Linked DNA regions of Homo sapiens: regions 1 and 2 are each linked to region 3. The links are contacts of gene promoters, found by promoter capture Hi-C in blood cells and fetal thymus (Javierre and others, 2016). All regions are on one chromosome and are shown on one strand. The core of a region is centred on a gene start or on the middle of the fragment in contact, and the rest is flanking DNA. Distances in the headings are between cores, read along the strand shown. Region 1 holds the start of SEPTIN4-AS1 (SEPTIN4 antisense RNA 1). Region 2 holds the start of SUPT4H1 (SPT4 homolog, DSIF elongation factor subunit). Region 3 holds the start of COIL (coilin).

Region 1 (2,700 bases), core at 131-2,630, 1.6 Mb after region 3:
TGGTCATCTCCGACTGGCGGCGCTAGGATTTCCCCCTTCCTGTGTCTTGATGGGTTCCTCCAACACTCACTTTGTATCGATAAACGACCCTGCAGTTCTTCACGACCTGCATTGCGCTGGCAGTCCTGAGTGAAGAACTCTCCTCTCATCCCAGAGATGGGAAACCTGGATCTGAGACTGCCAGCTAGCTGCGGCCTCCTAGTCTGTAAAGCGAAGGGAGACCAGGACGCTCCCAAGGACCCGGCTTATCGCCCCTCCCTTTCCTTCCCGGGGACCCAGAACAGACCACAAGACGGAGGGTGGCCGCTGGAGGTCGCCGTGGCCCCGCGATACCACCAACCGACAGAAATGGAGAACAGTTGATTCAGATTCAGCTGATATTCTCAGGTCTGGAGCGGGCCTGAGCGCTTTAATTAGCCCGGGGCTAATGTCCTCACCCATCTTTGTTTATAGAACGTTGAAACTCCAGTACTGTTGGTAAGTTCCAGGAAGACAGGAACTTTGCACTACTTGAACTCCAGGGTCTAGAACAGCCTGCAATCTAGCAGATGCTGTAAATTTTTTAATTAAATACTGAACTCCTGTAGGACGGTGATTGTGTTTTTATTCATTCCCAGCACTTACTATAGTGTTTGGTGATTACAATGGCTGCAGCATTTGTTCAAAGCTCTATCACAGGCTTTCTACAGTGTAGAGCTTAACCTGCCTATCCCTTTTCCCAGATCAGGGGAAACAGAAAGTCAGGAGGTTGCACGCAGTTAATACCTTGTGTTTTCCCAAGGGCAGGTATCAAATACAAAACTGCGTCCGCCGCAGCTGGAATACGCACAGGCATCAAAATGGGGCCTTTTGGGCCGGGCGCGGTGGCTCATGCCTGTAATCCCAGCACCTTGGGGGGCCGAGGCGGGCGGATCTCAAGGTCAGGAGATCGAGGTCATCCTGGCTAACACGGTGAAACCCCGTCTCTACTAAAAATACAAAAAATTAGTCGGGCGTGGTGGCGGGCGCCTGTAGTCCCAGCTACGGAGTCTTGTAGTCCCAGCTACGGAGCTTGCAGTGAGCCGAGATAGCGCCGTTGCACTCCAGCCTGGGCGACAGAGCGAGACTCCGCCTCAAAAAAAAAAAGGGCAGGGGGGACTTTTGGACAGTCCTTTAATATTGGGGAAGTGCCCCAAATTTCTTTTTCTTTTTATTTTTCTTTTTTTTTTTTGAGACGGAGTCTCGCCCTGTCACCCAGGCTGGAGTGCAGTGGCGCCATCTCAGCTCACTTCAAGCTCCGCCTCCCGGGTTCAGCCATTCTCCTGCCTCAGCCTCCCGAGTAGCTGGGACTACAGGCGCCCGCCACCACGCCCGGCTATTTTGTATTTTTAGTAGAGACAGGGTTTCACTTTCTCCTTAGCCAGGAGAAGTGCCCCAAATTTCTAATCCCTTAAGCCAGGACCTTGGTAGCCCTGAGGTGTGATGGGAGACTCTGGACAGAACCACCTGTTGACCTATCCAGGACCCAAATATGCACCACAGGTAGGAATCTTTTTATTACCAAAGGTACTGTATGTGTGAAAGATGGAGAGAGACCCAGACCCCAGATAACAGAGGCATGATAGATATGATCGTCAAGATGGAGAAGCCAGGCTGGATTCTAAGCAGGGACTTAGAAGGGGAAAGGAAGTGGAAAGTTTTCCCCACTCTCCCTTCCCTACTAAAAGCCAGAAACCAACATCTTCTACCATTAGCCTTTCAAAACTGGGTCCCAGGATCTTGATCTCCAGGTCATAAAAATACACACAGGGACACCAGAAGCCACCTACAGATTTATTAAACTTTATTTCCTCTGAGTCTCTGGGCAGTCAGCAGGGATGTAAGGCGAAGTGGCAGTAGCTGAAGGGGCCTGAGCAGAGCTGGTGCTGGGAGGGGCCGGCATGGACAGGAAGAAGAGGAGGAGATTTAAATATCCAGGGCTGAAAGCCAGTTAATAGTTCTCCTTCATCTGTTTTTGTATTTTGTGTAGCATCTCCTGCATCCGCCGCAGCTGGAATAGGCACAGGCATCAAAATGGGGACTTTTGGAGAGTCCTTTAGTATTGGGAAAGTGCCCCAAATTTCTAATCCCTTAAGCCAGAACCTTGGTAGCCGTGAGGTGTGATGGAGACTCTGGACAGAACCACCTATTGACCTATCCAGGACCCAAATATGCACCAGAGCCAGGGATCTTTCTATTACCAAACAAAGAGATACCAACGTTGGTGATCAAACAGGAGACCTCCCCTATACCCCATACTGCTCTCACCTCCTCATCTTTCTCTCGGATAAGCTTCTCAGTTTCTGGATCTGTCCCTGGTGGGACAGCAGGGATGGGGAAGTCGGTACCACTTTCCCGAGTCAGTTTGCTAAAGGGAGAAAAGGGTTGATAAGGCGAGGAGGACCCCAGCACCCGCTTAGATTGAGCCCAGGGCCTATAGAAGAACAAAAGTAGGGCTTGGTCTCACCCAAGGCTAGGCTTGGGATCTCCCCCTGCCAGCTTTGTCCTGGCTTCTGGTCATACTTGCGATTCCGTTCCTTCACCACCAGGCGGGTCATGCTCTGGATGCACTGTGCCCGGTAGTTCTCATAATGTGTCTCCCGTGTCACATCCTTCAGGTCCTGCATGTGGGTACGTACCAGCATTGTCCTCAGCTTCACAAAGTCGCAGTGCCCTGGGTTT
Region 2 (2,700 bases), core at 53-2,552, 1.4 Mb after region 3:
CTTCCCTTCATTTTCAAAAAAAATTTTCATGCATTTAACAAACATTATTAAGATTACATTCTTTCTTCTCATGTTAAGTCTTTGAAATCTGGGGTATATTTTATACTTAAAAGCATGTCTTAATTTGGACTAGACACATTTCAAGTGCTCAGTAGCTACACGTGGATAGTGGTCACTGTATTAGATGCATAGCACTAGTATGTCCCAAAATAACTGTTGAGGCTGGACACAGTGGCTTACACCTATAATCCCAGCACTCTGGGAGGTTGAAGTCAGAGGATCATTCCACGCTGCAGTGAGCTATGATCATGCCACTGCACTCCAGCCTGAGCCACAGAGCAAAACCCTGATTCAAAAAAAAAAAAAAAAAAAAAAACCCACACAAAATAACCCCCAAAAACGAATGGCTGGGCCCAACTAGGATTAACACTTGCCCTGCATTTACTTCTCTGGGTGCAGGTTGGGTAATGCAGAAGTGAATGATGGAAACTGAAGCGGCTTACCCATCAAAGGAAGAGCTAGTGCAGTCATATACCATCTCTCGGTTACCCTTCATTTGTAGATATGCATCACAATTGTCACAACCATCATATTCAAACTGGTCTATAGTCTGGGAGTGAAAGAAAAATAAAGGAAAAGGAGAGATAAGCATGAACAAGACCAAGAGAAAAAGTAGCTTTCTCAATACTTCGACCTGCTCAATTTCTTGTTTCCCTATGTTGACTGTGTATCCTAAGGTTCCCCACCTACTACTCTCAAAGCTTCATTCCTAAGTCCCACCCTCCCACTCCTTCCTCTCTCGTTCCCAATTCCGTTTTATCTATTCCTTTCTCTAGTCTACTCAGGGTCAGGCATCCTTTCCGACTACTCACTCAGCAGCGGATCCCCACCCGCCTCTGACTCCCAGTGTCTTTCGGCTCCAACGTAAGTTCACCGAACGTCTAAGAGCTGAGGATTCAAAGGCATGTAAGACCGCCCCTGCCCTCAGCTGCAAGACCTGTCCGCGATCCTACGAGGTAAACGATGGCCTCCTTCGGCTTCTCACTCCCCCTGCCACCTCTGAGTTCTGAGACTTAACTTTTCTCTTTACTGTCCCACAGCCCCATTCCGCCCTCTTTCCCCGACCTTGGTCCCCCATGGGCCCTACAACCAGGTCCCCGACTGACACCTTGACCAGCGAACACAGCAAACAGGCCCGCAGATGCCGCAGGTCCTTCGGCACCGTCTCCAGGGCCATCTTCGCCGATGGGAAGAACAACAGGGAGATAGACGACCACAGCCTGTGCACCCGCAGGAAGTAAATAGCTCGTTACCCAGAATGCCCACCACTTCCGGCGCTTAGACTTCCTCTTCCGGTGTGGGCGGACGCCAGCTCCGCCCCTACCCCCGCCAGAGGAGATGGTTTCTCCCGCCAGCAGGCGGGGAGGCTGGGCGGCCGGCCGCCACCTGGGCCGGAGCGCGTCGCAGCCACCTGAGCCCGCCGAGGGCGCGGCGGAGGCTGTGTGGGGTAGTCAGCGGGCCCCCGGGGCGGGGGGGCGGCTGCGCTTGCGCGGGAGTGTGTCGGGCTGAGCCGCAGCGCCGAGACGCGGGCTGTTTGATCTGGGCTGGTGGCCCTGGGCGTCGGTCCTGTTCCCCGATGGTAACCCGAAGTTTGTTTTTTTTTGTTTTGTCTCCCCGTTTTAGAAGCATTGGGGGCAGTGAATCCACTGTCTCCCTCTGGATTGTCTCTGCAGAGACCGAGAAGAAATCCAGGGACAGCCCCACCCCTCCTTCCTAACTGCGAGAGCGCTATAGGGTTTCCACTTGCTTCCCACAGGAATGCTGGCCTGGGAGCTACGGCGGAAAAAAATGCGTATTTATCTTTTAAAACTCCGTCTGTTTGCTCGTTCCGGCTGATAATTTATACTTTGCGCAGTTCTTAGCGCTTAGACACGGTTCCTTTACTAAAGACCATTTGTAGGAGATTAGGTGTCCTTTTTTTCCCTTTCATTTCACCGTCTAGGAAGCGAAATGCCTTGTTCTATAGGCACTAAACCACCACCCCTACCAAACCTTTCTCGGGGAAGCAGAAGGGGAACTTGTGCCTTGTGAGGAAGCGACAAAGGCCCCTTCTGGCCCTGGAGACTTCACGCCAATGGAGCACCAGCTCTCTGTCCTCGCAATAGCCCGAGTGCAGGCAGAACGCAGTCATTTGTGTTTATCTGAGAGGAGCTTTGGGATATAAATAGTTTCAGGCCCCGCTGCGCTGTCATTCCAGCCCAGCCTCCTGATTGAGCTGCTTCCGGGCGGGCTTTCTTCTTGTTGGCGGTCCCATGCTGTGTTCAGATGGGCTCTGTGACAGGTTTGGATGTTTTCTATCACTGAATAAAACTTTCCACTTTGGAACATATTTTCTACACTCTATTATCTCATGTAAGTCCTGCAACAACTATTAAGTAGGCCCATTTTATGGACTGAAAAAGCGAGGCACAGAGTATTTGCCCAAGGTCTGAGTCACTGAAGTATGATAATGTGTGAAGTGAACAGTATAATAATAATGACTGAAGCACAGTAAGAATCCAGTCATGCTTTCTCCTTCCCTGATCTCACTAAGCCACACTTTTAGGGGCTTACAAACCAGTTCTTATTGCCAAGCCCTCTACTCTACCCTATCCTTTCATGAATCGGAGCCTAGCCTCTGATAACATAAATAATTTACTT
Region 3 (2,700 bases), core at 51-2,550:
GTCTCCGGCACATCTGCACCATGGGCACGCAACAGAGTCGCACAGTGCCTAGCTAAGCGCGGATGTGCTAAATCAAGGCTGAAAGAAAGCCTGGCCCTGCCCTTAGGCATCAGGGATTTTCCAAGTTTGATTCTCCTGTCATCAGAAGCATCCCGGGAAGGATGCTCGTTACACTGCAGATTCCAGCCAGGCGCGGAGGCTCACGCCTGTAATCCCAGCACTTTGGGAAGCCGGGAGGATCACTTAACGTCAGGAGTTCAAGACCAGCCTGGCCAACACGGTGAAACCCCGTCTCTACTAAAAATACAAACAAACAAACAAAAAATTAGCCGGGCATGGTGGCGCCCGCCTGTAAGCCCAGCTACTCGGGAGGCTGAGGTGGGAGGATCGATTGAACCCGGGAGGTGGAGGCTGCAGTGAGCTGAGATCGCGCCACTGCACTCCAGCCTGGGTGACAGAATGAGACTCAGTCTCAAAAATAAAAATAATAGGGGCAGGATGCGGTGGTGCACGCCTGCAATCCCAGCACTTTGAGAGGCCGATGCAAGCGGATCAACTGAGGTCAGGAGTTCGAGACCACCTTGACCAATATGGTGAAACCCCATCTCTACTAAAAATACAAAAATTAGCCGGGCGTGGTGGCGGACGCCTGTAGTCCCAGCTACTCGGGAGGCTGAGGCAGGAAAATTGCTTGAACCCGGGAGGTGGAGGTTGCAGTGAACCGAGATCGCGCCACTGTACTCCAGCCTGGGTGACAAAGCAGGACTCCGTCTCAAAAAAAAAAAAATAATAATAAAAAATAATAATAAAATGCAGATTCCTGAGCCCCAAAGTTGACTACACCAATCAGGATCTCCGGGGTTCGCGAACGTGCATTTTTACAGCCCCACCCCCCTCCAACCCTCGTCCCCTTCCCCATCCCCCATCCCCTCCACTACCAGGTCTAGCGGCTTCAGGCCCGGGCGTGCGCAGGCGCGTCCCCCGCCCGCCGCCCACCCGGCCGTCCCGCTCCCTGCGCCGCGCACCTGAGGCAGTCGTTGTCTCTCACAAGGCGCGCGCTCTCGGCGGGGGGCAAGAGCCCCCCCTCCAGGTAGAGGCCTAGGAAGGCCCCAGAACTGAAGCCGAAGCGCTGGCGGATGAGACTAATGAGATCTGTGACGACTCGGCATCTGTTCAAGTCGACCAGAAGCCAGAAGGCCGTACAGTGCGGGGTAGCTGGCGGCGGGTAATCAAATTGAAGCCGTAGCCTAACCGTCTCGGAAGCTGCCATCTTGCTTGGTGCTCAACGGAAGCCGAGAGATACCACGGGGCCACCGAGAGGCGTGCTCGGGCGGCTCGCCCCCGCCGGAGCCTTTGGCGTGTGCCACCTAGTGGTGAAACCTGGCTACTACAGGCTGCGTCTAGGCGAGAACTCGGAGCGTGGTTGATTTCATTCAATTTTGTTCACGGCAGGGCTGAGGAAGGGAATAAGTGAAATGCCTTTATTACATTTCTACTGGGCGCTATGTAGGGTCTCCTAATTAAGGCAACTCTCTGGATAAATAACATTTCTCCTCAGCAGTAGTCTTCTAAGATATTTGCTCATCGACGTGAAAGATTTTTATAAAACAATCCTAACACATTTCGCTGACAAAATTTTTCATCATGATGAGTTGAAAAAGATGTAAGTCCTAGTGTGTTCTCAATGTTGAAATTTTGAAATAACACTGTTAATCATTCTTCCAAATGTATCCAGTGGAATATAAATACCTTAGCCTTTTAATACCCACCACCAAACAAAAATGTCCTTGCATTTCTCACCAGATAAATAAATCAGTATTTACATTATTTCTTCTATTTTTTGAACTAGAATTTACATTTCTCCACATAATATATATTAACTCCTTTAATTTTCATAACAAAAGTTAGGAATTATGAACTGTTATCCTTATTTAGAGGATTTAAAAAAAACAAGGTTCAGAGAGTTTAAGAAGTAACTAGAGGCCAGGAGCAGTGGCTGACGCCTGTAATCCCAGCACTTTGAGAGGCCAAGGTGGGCGGATCACTTGAGACCAGGAGTCTGAGACCACCCTGGCCAAAATGGTGAAACCCCAACTCTACTAAAAATATAAAGATTAGCCGGGTGTGGTGGCATGTGCCTATAATTCCAGCTACTCGGGAGACTGAAGCAGTAGAATCGCTTGAACCCAAGAGGTGGAGGTTGCAGTGAGTCAGGATCGTGCCACTGCACTCCAGCCTGGGCAATAGAGCAAGATTCTGTCTTAAAAAAAAAAAAAGGAGTAACTTCCCCAAGTTCACTAGACTAGTTAAGTTGTAGATACCAGGGAGTCAGTAGATGAATTGAAAACAAAATTTTTTAACTGAAAGTAAGGGTTTTTGGATTTTCTTTTTTTAGAGTCTTGCTCTGTCACCTAGGCTGGAGTGCCGTGGTGCACTCTGCCTCCCGGGTTCAAGTGACTTCCCACCTCAGCCTTCCTAGTAGCTGGAACCACAGGTGTGAGCCACCAAGCCCAGCTAATTTTTGTATTTTTTGTAGAGATAGGGTTTTTCCATGGTGGCCAGGCTGGTCTCGAATTCCTGAATTCCAGCAATCTGCCTGCCTTGGCCTCCCAAAGTGGTGGGATTACAGGCATGAGCCACCACCTCCGACTAAAATCAAGTTTATTAGAGAATTAAAGGAATAAAAGAATGACTACTCCA

Evidence for each region. The method cuts DNA at HindIII sites, captures the fragments that hold promoters and counts their contacts. A CHiCAGO score of 5 or more calls a contact.
Region 1: the fragment with the promoter of SEPTIN4-AS1 here is called in contact with the fragment with the promoter of COIL in region 3 in 1 of 17 cell types (neutrophils); the score reaches 7.2 in neutrophils.
Region 2: a contact is called between the fragment with the promoter of SUPT4H1 here and the fragment with the promoter of COIL in region 3, in 2 of 17 cell types (neutrophils and total CD8 T cells). The highest score is 7.0, in neutrophils.

What each region holds. Positions count from the first base shown.
Region 1 is chr17:58,518,457-58,521,156 of GRCh38, forward strand. It overlaps SEPTIN4-AS1 (SEPTIN4 antisense RNA 1), which reads left to right and starts at 1,381. Exons shown (of 5, transcript NR_110810.1): 1 at 1,381-1,521. It overlaps SEPTIN4 (septin 4), which reads right to left. Exons shown (of 14, transcript NM_001368771.2): 12 at 2,542-2,700; 13 at 2,287-2,386; 14 at 1,800-2,029. The coding sequence ends at 1,970. It also overlaps a transcript of MTMR4 not described here. RefSeq lists enhancers at 1-685, 33-132. The HindIII fragment of the contact is 4,387 bases long and covers 1-2,308 here.
Region 2 is chr17:58,350,899-58,353,598 of GRCh38, forward strand. SUPT4H1 (SPT4 homolog, DSIF elongation factor subunit) reads right to left here and starts at 1,303. Exons shown (of 5, transcript NM_003168.3): 1 at 1,169-1,303; 2 at 504-610. The coding sequence starts at 1,237. It overlaps TSPOAP1-AS1 (TSPOAP1, SUPT4H1 and RNF43 antisense RNA 1), which reads left to right. Exons shown (of 5, transcript NR_038410.1): 4 at 846-1,016; 5 at 1,101-2,700. It also overlaps a transcript of RNF43 not described here. RefSeq lists silencers at 877-986, 1,267-1,696 and an enhancer at 2,084-2,619. The HindIII fragment of the contact is 2,691 bases long and covers 760-2,700 here.
Region 3 is chr17:56,959,750-56,962,449 of GRCh38, forward strand. It overlaps COIL (coilin), which reads right to left and starts at 1,301. Exons shown (of 7, transcript NM_004645.3): 1 at 1,026-1,301. The coding sequence starts at 1,270. It overlaps LOC105371836 (a long non-coding RNA gene), which reads left to right and starts at 1,399. Exons shown (of 4, transcript XR_934875.4): 1 at 1,399-1,663. RefSeq lists a silencer at 903-1,012 and enhancers at 1,139-1,433, 1,183-1,322, 1,333-1,382. The HindIII fragment of the contact is 13,699 bases long and covers 1-2,700 here.